Linked DNA regions of Homo sapiens: region 1 is linked to region 2. The links are contacts of gene promoters, found by promoter capture Hi-C in blood cells and fetal thymus (Javierre and others, 2016). All regions are on one chromosome and are shown on one strand. Each heading gives the region's core, a stretch centred on a gene start or on the middle of the fragment in contact. The rest is flanking DNA. Distances are from core to core; before and after follow the strand shown. Region 1 overlaps CTDSPL (CTD small phosphatase like). Region 2 holds the start of SLC22A14 (solute carrier family 22 member 14).

Region 1 (5,372 bases), core at 180-2,679, 300 kb after region 2:
ACAGCGCGGAGCTCACATCCAGGACACAGGAAGGCTTCCACTTAGGGTCACTGTGCAATATTACATCACAAAGAGAAGTGGTAAATTTCCTCCCTTGCTTAACAGTGATCAGTTAAAAGTAAAAGTCTAAAATTGCAGAACATTCTGAAGCTATGGGCAAAGACAGGATTTTCCCTTAGTTTTAGGCAGAGGAGTGGGGAGGGGTGGTAGCCAGGGGTACAAAGGAGAGATTTATAAACAAATTTGAATAAACCAAACATGTTTAAAAGTAACATTTTAGCCCTTTTACAAATCTAAAGATAGCTTAGAAACATAGACATTTATTACGTAACTTTGAAAAATAAAGTAAGGACTAATAAAGAAATGACTACGCCTAGGGGATGGGGAGAGAGTGGAGGAGAGGGCAGAAATGGACACACTTCTCTGTCTTTATTTATAGTTTTGATGTCGGAACCATGTAAATGTGTTATATAATTAAAATACAATTAAACCATTAAGAAAAAAAGCAATAAAAGTGAATCTAAGTGTATATAAAATTGGTGACACAACCACACAATTACTTCAAGTGATTTGTGTGTGTGTGTGTGACACAGCGTCACACTCTGTCACCCAGGCTTGAGTGCAGTGGCAATCATAGCTCTGTAGCCTTGACCTCCTGGGCTCAAGTGATCCTTCCACCTCAGCCTCCCAAGTAGCTGGGACTATAGGCATGTGGCACCACGCTTGGCTAATTTTTTTTCTTTTCTTTTTTTGAGATGGAGTTTTGCTCTTGTTGCCCAGGCTGGAGTGCAATGGTGTGATCTTAGCTCACTGCAACCTCCAACTCCTGGGTTCTCCTGCCTCAGCCTCCTGAGTAGCTGGGATTACAGGCACCTGCCGCCATGCCCAGCTAGTTTTTGTATTTTAGTAGAGACAGGGTTTCACCATGTTGGTCAGGCTGGTCTTGAAATCCTGACCTCAGGTGATCCACCCACCTCGGCCTCCCAAAGTGCTAGGATTACAGGCATGAGCCACCACCCCAGCCTTTTTTTTTTCTTTTTTTTTTAGTAGCGACAGGATCTTGCTTTGTTGTCCAGGCTGGTTTCAAACTCCTAAGCTCAAGTAATCCTCCCTCCTCAGCCTCCCAAAGTGCTGGGATTGCAAGCAGCCAGGTAAGCCACCAAGCCTGGCATTCAAGTGATTTTAAAACATGGTGTTATAACTGTACATCTCTCTAAAAATTCCTAAACTGCATAGAGTTGTCTTATTATTAGCCATAATTTAGTACCGCTACTGAAATTATTAAACATACACTACAGATCAATTATATAATTATGTTAATATCTTTAGAAATCAAGAGTTGCAGCATAAGAGAAAGGGATACAAAAACAAAACAAGCAAAGAAGTTACATAAAAACGTAACGTTGTATTGGAAAAACCAGTATGAACTTATGATTTAGTTTTCTTTCTAAAAATATGTCATTTTTAGCTCTGCCCTGTAGTATGGGCTAGAAGTAAAGTATATCCCATTAGCAATGAAAATCCACCTAAACTGTGGTCTCTAAATACCACTTCCACTAATAGGGACCAGGCACCATACAAAAATGGCTGGTTCCAGGGCTGAGGCAAGAAATGTTCATCATGAGCCTGGAACATCTTGTTGTTTAAGAAAGTAAGGAAGCTACAGGTTGAGCATCCCTAATCTGAAAAATCTGAGTCCCGAAATGCCTCAAAATCCAAAATTTTTTGAGCAATGGCACCACAAGTGGAAAATTCTACACTTGACCTCGTGTGCCAGGTGGTAGTGAAAACACAGGCACATGATACACAGTTTATTTAGTGTCCCCAAATTATAAAAAATATTGTATAAAATTACCTTTAGGCTATGTGTATAAGCTGTACATAAAACAGAAATGAATTTCATGTTTAGACTTGGTTCCATCCCCAAGATATCCAATTATGTATATGCAAATATTCCAAAATCCTAAAAAATCCAAAATCCAAGACACTTCTGGTACCAAGCATTTTAGATAAAGAATATTCAACCTATATCAAAGACTTGTTATTAGTGTCCATAGCCAAAGGTGAAAATTAGAGCATGCAAAAGAATAATAAATGGACTGAAACTACAACAAATCCATGAGTTCATAATGATACTAAAAAAAAATTATTGGCTACTTTTGGAGGCCGCTAGAACACCAACTCATTAGTCTGAAAATAGAAATTGCCATTTTGCAATTCCTCATGAAATAGTGGGTGTAGACAATGATCACCAACAACTGCTAAAATTATGAGGTGAAAGGTTCATGGGAGAATTTTATAATAGATGGATCAGGCTAACACCACCTGAACCCAATGATGAATTTTAAATCTTTAAAAGTGGGCTAACCTGACATTTTATGCCTCCTTGATATGATATCTTCATAAGCGTATAATACCCATGATGTATTATTTTTTTCTTCTTTTTTTTGGGATAGGGTCTTGCTCTGTCACTCAGGCTGAAGTGCAGTGGCATGAACATGGCTCACTGCAGCCTCGACCTCCTGGGCTCAAGAGATCCTCCCACCTCAGCCTCCCAAGTAGCTGGAACGACAGTGGAACCACAGGTGTCTGCCACCCCGTCTGGCTAATTTTTTTTTTTTTAAGAGATGGGGTCTTGCCATGTTGCCCAGGCTGGTCTCAAACTCTTGGGCTCAAGTGATCACCTGCCTGGGCCTCCCAAAGTGCTGGGATTATAGGTGTGAGCCATTGCATCTGGCCTCTATGATATATTCTTGCAAAAAAAAAAAAAATCGAATCTAATCAAGCAGTAGAGCTCTAATTACTTGTTTAGAGGATATAAGGTGGCTATAAGAACATATTAAACATCATCACAAGACAGCAGCTGGACAAATCCAGAATGTAGGAGATTTCTACAAGACAAAACACCAGGGCTTCTTCAACAAATAAATGGCATAAAAGAGAAAAGGGGAGGAAAGGGAGACGTGTTAAGATTGCAAAAGAATGAAGAGACATAGTAACCAAAGCAATGCATGGATCTTTTTGGATCCCGATTGAAATACTCCAAATGCACAACACTTCGAGATGATAGGGACAATATGAACACAGTCTGGATATTAGACAATGTAAGAAACTGTTACTTTGTCAGATCTGACCGTGACTTGTGATTATATTAAAAAGCAATCCTTATCTGTTAGAGACACGTTACCAAATATATTATGTTGAATTTGATTTACTCAGTAAAATGAACACATTTACATAGAAATACATTTGGAGTATTTATTCAAATAATGATTCCACACTAGCCAAATTAATTGAGTTTGAATTTTTTTTGGTTATAAGCGAGACTGCAGAGTTCTGGATTCAAGGAAAGGACTTTGCAGGCTTTTGTAGAATCTGAGAAGCCTGTGCTTGAGAGGAAGCATCCTCTCCAGGGAAAAATGCCTGGTCTAGGGGCCTGATGTGGCAGAGACTGAGGGGTCAGCAGTCACCAGAGGCCCTGGTTGGCCTCTTTTCCCCTGGAAGTGTCAGGCAGCAGGCAGGAAGGCAGTCCTTCTTGCCCTGAGAGTTGTGCTGCACCCAGTGAGTAGGCACCGAGAGCTGCCATGGTCCAGGGAGCTTTATGAATGAAATGTTCCCAATGGGTGCTTTTTAGACATCATGATGAGGTAGCAAAGCTTGGCAGTCTTATTTGAAGACCTTATTGAAGTGTTTTATTCATTTTTTTTTTTTTTTTGAGACGGAGTCTCCATCTGTCGCCAGGCTGGAGTGAAGTGGTGGGATCTCAGCTCACTGCAACCTCCGCCTCCCGGGTTCAAGTGATTGCCCTGCCTCAGCCTCCCGAGTAGCTGAGACTACAGGTGCGTGCCACCAACGCCTGGCTAATTTTTTGTATTTAGTAGAGACAGGGTTTTACCATGTTGGCCAGGATGGTCTCGATCTCCTGACCTTGTGATCTGCCTCGGCCTCCCAAAGGGTTGGGATTACAGGTGTGAGCCACCACACCTGGCCTATTCATTCTTAAGAAATACTTCTGTTAAAGAGATCAACCAGGCCTCCTTAGTCTACAGGGGTCATGAAGTCCTACGCAGTAGCTGGCTCCAGGAGGTTACTGCCAGCAGAACCCTTGTCAATAACAATACTAAAAATGTCAATAAGACGATACAGGCTTATAGAGCATTTACCAGTCTCAAGCACTATTCTAAGTGCTTTTTATATATTGCCACACTGCAACCTCCAATGATCCTATGAGATCAGCATTCCTATAATTCCCATTTGACAGATGAGGCAACCGAGGCTCAGTGAGGTTAAATAACTTGGTCAATGACACGCAACTGCTAAATGGCAGAGCTGGGATTTCATTAGGAAAAGGCCCAGAGACCTTCTTGTGTAGGTGCTCAAAAGTGGTACCTGCCTGGCAAGACAGAGGGCTCAGATGGAGCACGACATTTTCTTTCTTTGGGGCCACTTACTGCATTCTCAGGATGGAAGATGTATGAGGCAGGGGAATTGTCAACAATGATCACTTTGCTCAGCTCCCGCCCAAGGCGACTCAGGTCCTTCACGTAGTTCCCACGATGAAAAACACATGATTCTCTGAAGAGCCGGGCCCGGAACACACCCCAGCGGTCTAGGAGGTCAGCCACAGGGTCTGCATACTGGAAAAGACGTGTCACAATGAAGGCTGGGTGTTTAAAAGAGCCCCCCAAACCCTGAACTACAGCAGCAAGATCCAGATTACGTTTTTTAAAAATGGATTTAATAATTAGATGTGTCTTAGGATCCTGGTTATTTTCCTCTCCGTGTACATAAGATGGCACTGGATTCTTCCATTTCTCTCACATCCAACCATCAGGAATTGTCAGTTTCATCTCCAAAGATAGCCTGACTCCATTTGCATCTATTTATATTGCCACCACCCTTAGCCTGGGCCTCGAATCTCTGGCCTGGGATGGCTGTGTGAGCCTCGTGAAAAACCTGTCTTTCCCACGGGGCCTCCTTTCTAGCCCATTCACCTAGAAGCTGTCAGAGTGGCCACTGGAAAACATATGTGCCATCATGTCACTCCTCTGCTGAAAACTCTCCACTGTCTACACACCGCACTTGGAGTAAGGCCCACGTTCCTCACTGCTGCGTCCCACATGGCACAGCTGAATGAGCTCCATCTGGAGCCCCTGGAGCCACACTGGCTTTGAGTATGGTCAGGACCTTTGTACCAGTGTTCCCTCTGCATGCATTCTCTCCCCAGCTCTTTGCAGAACATCTGTCTCCTGGTTTTTCAGGTCTTGACTTCCTCTCCCATCCACCTAGAGCCACATCTATCTTCCTTTCTGGGTTGTTTCCCTCACAGAGTGGAGTACTATGTGGGATTGCTTGATTTCCTCTCTCCTTGT
Region 2 (4,989 bases), core at 2,359-4,858:
ACATTCCTGGCAGAATTATTCATAGACCCACTTTGGAAAACAATTTGGCATTGTCTTATAAAGTTGAATACCTGTATACCTTATGACCCAGCAATGCTACCCCCAGGTATATACTCTAGGGAGCCATTTGTACATATGATCCAGGAAATAAGTACCAAAATGTTCATGACACTTTTCAACTGTGAAAAAAGAGCCCAAATGCACATCAATGAAAGAATGCCTAAATTGTAGTAGATTTATATAGTGGAATACAATATAGCAATGAAAATGAAGAAGCTTCAGCTCCATCCATCAACCTGTATGAGTCTCAAAAACAGGATGTTCAGTGAAAAAAGTAAGCCTCAGAAAACTGATGCTCTTTTTATAAAGTTTGGAAACAAGCAAGACTAAAGAAATAATTTCAGTATGTCATGCAATAAAACTATAGATTTTTTTTAACAGCAAGGATGAAATTCAGGAAACCATCTCTGAGGGGAGACAGAGGAATGATGTCAAGGAAGAGGTGGACTGAAATCATTAGAAATGTTCTGGTGCTTTGGGTGGGTGATGGATTCACACGTGTCTGTTTTTATTTTGAAAAAATATTGTGCCCAAGGACCCTCTCCTGAAACATCCACTCCTGCTCTTCCTGCAGGGCCCCCTCCCCTCTGCTGGAGACTGATAAAGGCAGCAGTCCCCCACTGTGGTGGGGGTATCCCCTGTTTAGTGTAGTGAACTTCTGCCTGCTACTACTTGCTCTTAGTATTTTCCACAGCCAAAACTCATCTTCACATTGATCATGTTAATGGCTACGGAATCTTTGTTAAGGTGCTGTTTACTTCATGGTAGCTACTGGGCACCAAGGCTGTTTCTCACTGCTTCCTCACTACCCCAGACAACTTTTCTGTACACATTATGGTGCAGAAGGCTGTCTTTCTTCCCTGGGCTAAGGTCCAAGAAGTAGGATTGTTTATATGGCTCTTATAACATAGGCTCGTAATGTCCTCCGGAAAGAGCAACCCATTTCAGAGTCCACAACAGTTCACGAGGTGTCCATTTCCTTACAGTCCCACCAGCAGCATTGGGTCTTATAATTTGTATTGCTTTTCGGTCATTTCGTAGTATGATGAGAACCCTTGTCTCTGTTCTTGTGATTTTTTTTTTTTAATTTTGTGGGAGGCTGATCACCCACATTGTCAGGCCAGGTGTCCTTGAAGGGGACATTCTTCCATGTATTCTCACATTTCCTACGCTCTGGTCCTTCGTCTCACGGGAACTTGCTCCCTAAGCACTGCAGAAGACACTGAGGCATATTGTAATGATTAGCGGAGGCCTCCTTTCTAAGTTCTTCCTCTCATTTCTGCCAAGATCCCTGCACATTCCCAGCATTCTGGGAAAGTTTCTTCAGAGAATTCTTTAGAGGACGGGCCTTGGCTGGGACACCAGGGGCCCTTGCCTGGCTGGGGATGGCACTGTGGTGGGCCTAGAGGGCAGGGATCTGTGGGGAGGCCGAGCTGCATTCGCCAAATCTATCCCTCTTAGGCCGGCCCTGGAGGAGTGACCCAGCCTGGCCCCCAGCCCCCATGGGGTCCTCACCTGGGCATGTCACCAAGCTGCCCCACTAGCCCTAGCCAAGGCTAGGGCCACTTTCAGAAGCCACCATGAGCCCCTCGCTCTACTATCGGACAGGGCGGACAGGGATGGAGAAGAGCTGTCTGCTTGAGGAGGAGTCCCCTTTCCCTCTTGGGCCCCTAGTTTTCTACCAGTCACACGAGGGGGATGCCTCCTTCTCAGACTGCGACTGCTGTTCCATAATCCAGGGAAGAGGTCTCCAGCTCATCGTCTACGGGACAAATCCAGCCTGCAGACACATTTCCCTTGGCTAGCCCATTTGGTGCCTCACTGTGTCTTGGAATGTGATTTAACTGCCAAAAGTTGATTTCACATAAATGCAGCATTTTCTTTTTGAAGTTTGGCCAATGGGACAGCATTCCCATCTGGCAACAATTAGCAAATCTGAGCAGGGGCCCCTCCTTTAGACTGAGAGTCTGCTCTGTTTTTTGTTATTATTGTTGTTGTTGTTGTTTGTTTGTGAGACAGAATCTCGGTCTGTCACCCAGGCTGGAATGTAGTGGTGTGATCTCGGCTTACTGCACCCTCTGCTTCCTGGGTTCAAGTGATTCTACTGGCTCAGCCTCCCGAGTAGCTGGTACTACAGGTGCAAGCCACCACGCCTGGCTAATTTTTGTATTTTTAGTAGAGATGGGGTTTCACCATGTTGGCCAGGCTGGTCTCGAACTCCTGACCTCAAGTGATCTTCCCGCCTCGGCCTCCCAAAGTGCTGGGATTACAGGCGTGAGCCACTGCACCCGGCTCCTGCTACTTCTGATGTGTGCATGCAGGAGGCCCAGCAGAGCCCAGCACCATTTCCCCATTTCACTTGTCTTTGCCTCCTGCCTGGCCCTGAGTTCGGGATCCCTTATCTCAGCAGAATTTGGAGGTGCATAAGAGGCAGGGAACACAGAGGGAGAGCATGCTTAGATGTGTGTGTGCTGGGAGGTGGGGGAGGCTGCATAAGCGCCCCCCGGAGAGATCTATGCCTAATCCTCAGAACTCGTAAATATGTTTCCTTACATGGCAAGGGGGGTTAAAGTTACAGATGAAGTTAAGGTTACTACTTAGCTGACTTTAAAATAGATTATCCTGGATTGTCAGGTAGGTCCCATTAATCCCAGGATCCTTAAATGCATAAGACCCAAAGAAATGCAGCGTGATAAAGATTTGGGCAGCCGTCGGTGGCTTTGAAGATGCAAGGGGTCCCAGAGCCAAGGAATGCAGGAGGCTCTAGAAGCTGGAAAAGGCAAGGAAGGAAATGAGCTCTGCCCTAGAGCCTCCAGAAAGGAAGGCAATCCTTCTGAGACCTTGATCTTAGCCTGCTGAGGCCCATTTGTTCTTCTGACCTCCAAAACCATAAGGTAATAAGTCTCTGCTGTTTCAAGCCACTAAGTGTGGGCATTTGTTATAGCAGCAATAGGAAACCAATACAGGATGTATGTGTGTAAGGCTGGAGAGGGTGGAGGTGGATAAAGGAGACTTTCCAGGGAGGGAGAGCCTCCGCTGTCCTCTCAGAGATGTGGCTTCTGGACCAGAGCCATCTGTACCAGCCTCCCTCTGCAGGGACCGCTTCAGCATCCCCCAGCACCACCTGATACCCCAATACCCTGGAGCACTCACTCCCTCTACTCATCCCAAAGGTCCTCTGCCAGGTGGACAGGCCCCAGGCAATTGGCTCTCAATGTGCCAAAGAGGTAACTGAGGCCTGGGAGAAGCATAGCCAGGAGGAGCACTCCACCTGCCGCAGGAGATGGCCAGACGCCACACCTGAGAACTCACGCTTTCTGGGAGGGCAGCCCGCTCCTTCCACAGATTCCCCACAGCCAAACAGGCCCAGGCAGGCTCCTGTCCACACCTGTGCTGAGAACGCGGCCGCAAAATTGCCAGGGGTCATCATAATTTCTACTCTCCACACCCTCCCGGCCCTGCCTCCCTGTAGGCAGGACCGCAAGCCAAAGCCAGGGCCCACCTGACCACAATCCAGGCCCAGCCAGACCCTTGGAAGCAGAACCTTTGAGCTCCACTGGTGTCCAGGAAGTAGTGTCACAATGGGGTGGGGAGGTCCTTGGGGTGAGCTGGGAATGGTGAGGGTCAGCATTCTACTCCAGGGACACAACTGGCTGTAGCCTCCAGGGGCAAGGCAGGTCAGGAAAACTGCCACACGAACCCCCCTGCCCCTGTCTTTGTGCAGGCTGTTTCCTCCACACGAGGGCTCCACCTCCACTCTCGGAAATTCTCCTGTCCTTCCAGATATCACTCATTTATCAACTATCCTTCAAGCCTTCCTGAGCCCACAGCTGGAAATGGCTTGGCCCTACCCCACTCACTTCTGCTCTGTCTCTCCGTGACACTCCCCTGCCAACCAGCCTTGGTCAGAGCTGCCGGGGTCTGACCCATCTCCCCCATAAGCTAGAAGCCTCCTCTGCCAGATTGCAGGAACAGGGCTTCAAGCTTCATGCTTGGGGGAAGGGAGGCCAAAGTGGCAGGACAGGAAAACCAGCACAGGGCCTAGTACAAGGCAGACCATCCTTGTACCAGTACAGCATGTACTTAGGACCTCAACAAAATTAGAGCATTGCTATGGCTTAATATTTGTCCTCTCCAAAACTCATGTTGAAACTTCATCTCCAGTGTGGTAGCGTGATGGGGCCTTTAAGATGTAATTGGGTCATGAGTGTAATCTGTTAATCCATGAATCACCAATCATGGATTAGTAGATTAATGGGTTAATGAGTTATGAGAATGGGACTGGTGACTTTATAACAAGAGGAAGAAAGACAAGCTAGCTTGCTCGGTTCCCTCACCTGTGCCCCCTTGGGAGACTGCAGAGTTCCCAACAGCAAGAAGGCCCTTACCAGATGTATTCCCTAAACCTTGGACTTCCCAGCCTCCAGAACTGTAAGAAATAAATTTCTTTTCTTTATAAATAACTCAGTTTCAAGCAGTCTGTTATAAGCAACAGAAAATGGACTAACACAGACACTTAAGACACAAAAAAAAATTAAAAGAATTTCATATATTTGAAAAAAAATGAAGTATTGATCACAGGGAAACCTACTTACAGCTCTTTTGCAGTTTCCTATGGCTCAATCTTCACTTGTTTGGGGGCAGGGCACTGCAATCTTATTGGTATCTGGGGCATCAGATCCTTCCTCTTTCACCAGACCTCCCTCGGGGTGTCTGCAGGTCACCTCAGTGGTTGGTCCTAGGCCCCTCATCCCCCCTAGAGTTCCCCACTCTTGAGCAGCAGCACTCTGGGGGTCAAAGGGACCAAGCAGACAGCACAGTGAGCACCCAGAAGCCATCAGTGAGACTGAAGAGCAGGGTGGGAGCACCCCTTTGTTTTGGTTTGTTTTGGTTACATAAGATCCCAGAACTCGGCTGGGCATGGTGGCT

Evidence for each region. Contacts are between HindIII fragments. The CHiCAGO score rates a contact against its expected background, and 5 or more counts as called.
Region 1: a fragment that was not itself captured here is called in contact with the fragment with the promoter of SLC22A14 in region 2 in 1 of 17 cell types (neutrophils); the score reaches 5.2 in neutrophils.

The regions. Positions count from the first base shown.
Region 1 is chr3:37,974,974-37,980,345 of GRCh38, reverse strand. It overlaps CTDSPL (CTD small phosphatase like), which reads right to left. Exons shown (of 8, transcript NM_001008392.2): 7 at 4,452-4,637. Among named protein-coding and RNA genes, the nearest start is that of MIR26A1, 8.3 kb to the right of the region's middle. The HindIII fragment of the contact is 4,458 bases long and covers 1-3,658 here.
Region 2 is chr3:38,280,913-38,285,901 of GRCh38, reverse strand. It overlaps SLC22A14 (solute carrier family 22 member 14), which reads right to left and starts at 3,608. Exons shown (of 11, transcript NM_001320033.2): 1 at 3,563-3,608. The HindIII fragment of the contact is 3,768 bases long and covers 279-4,046 here.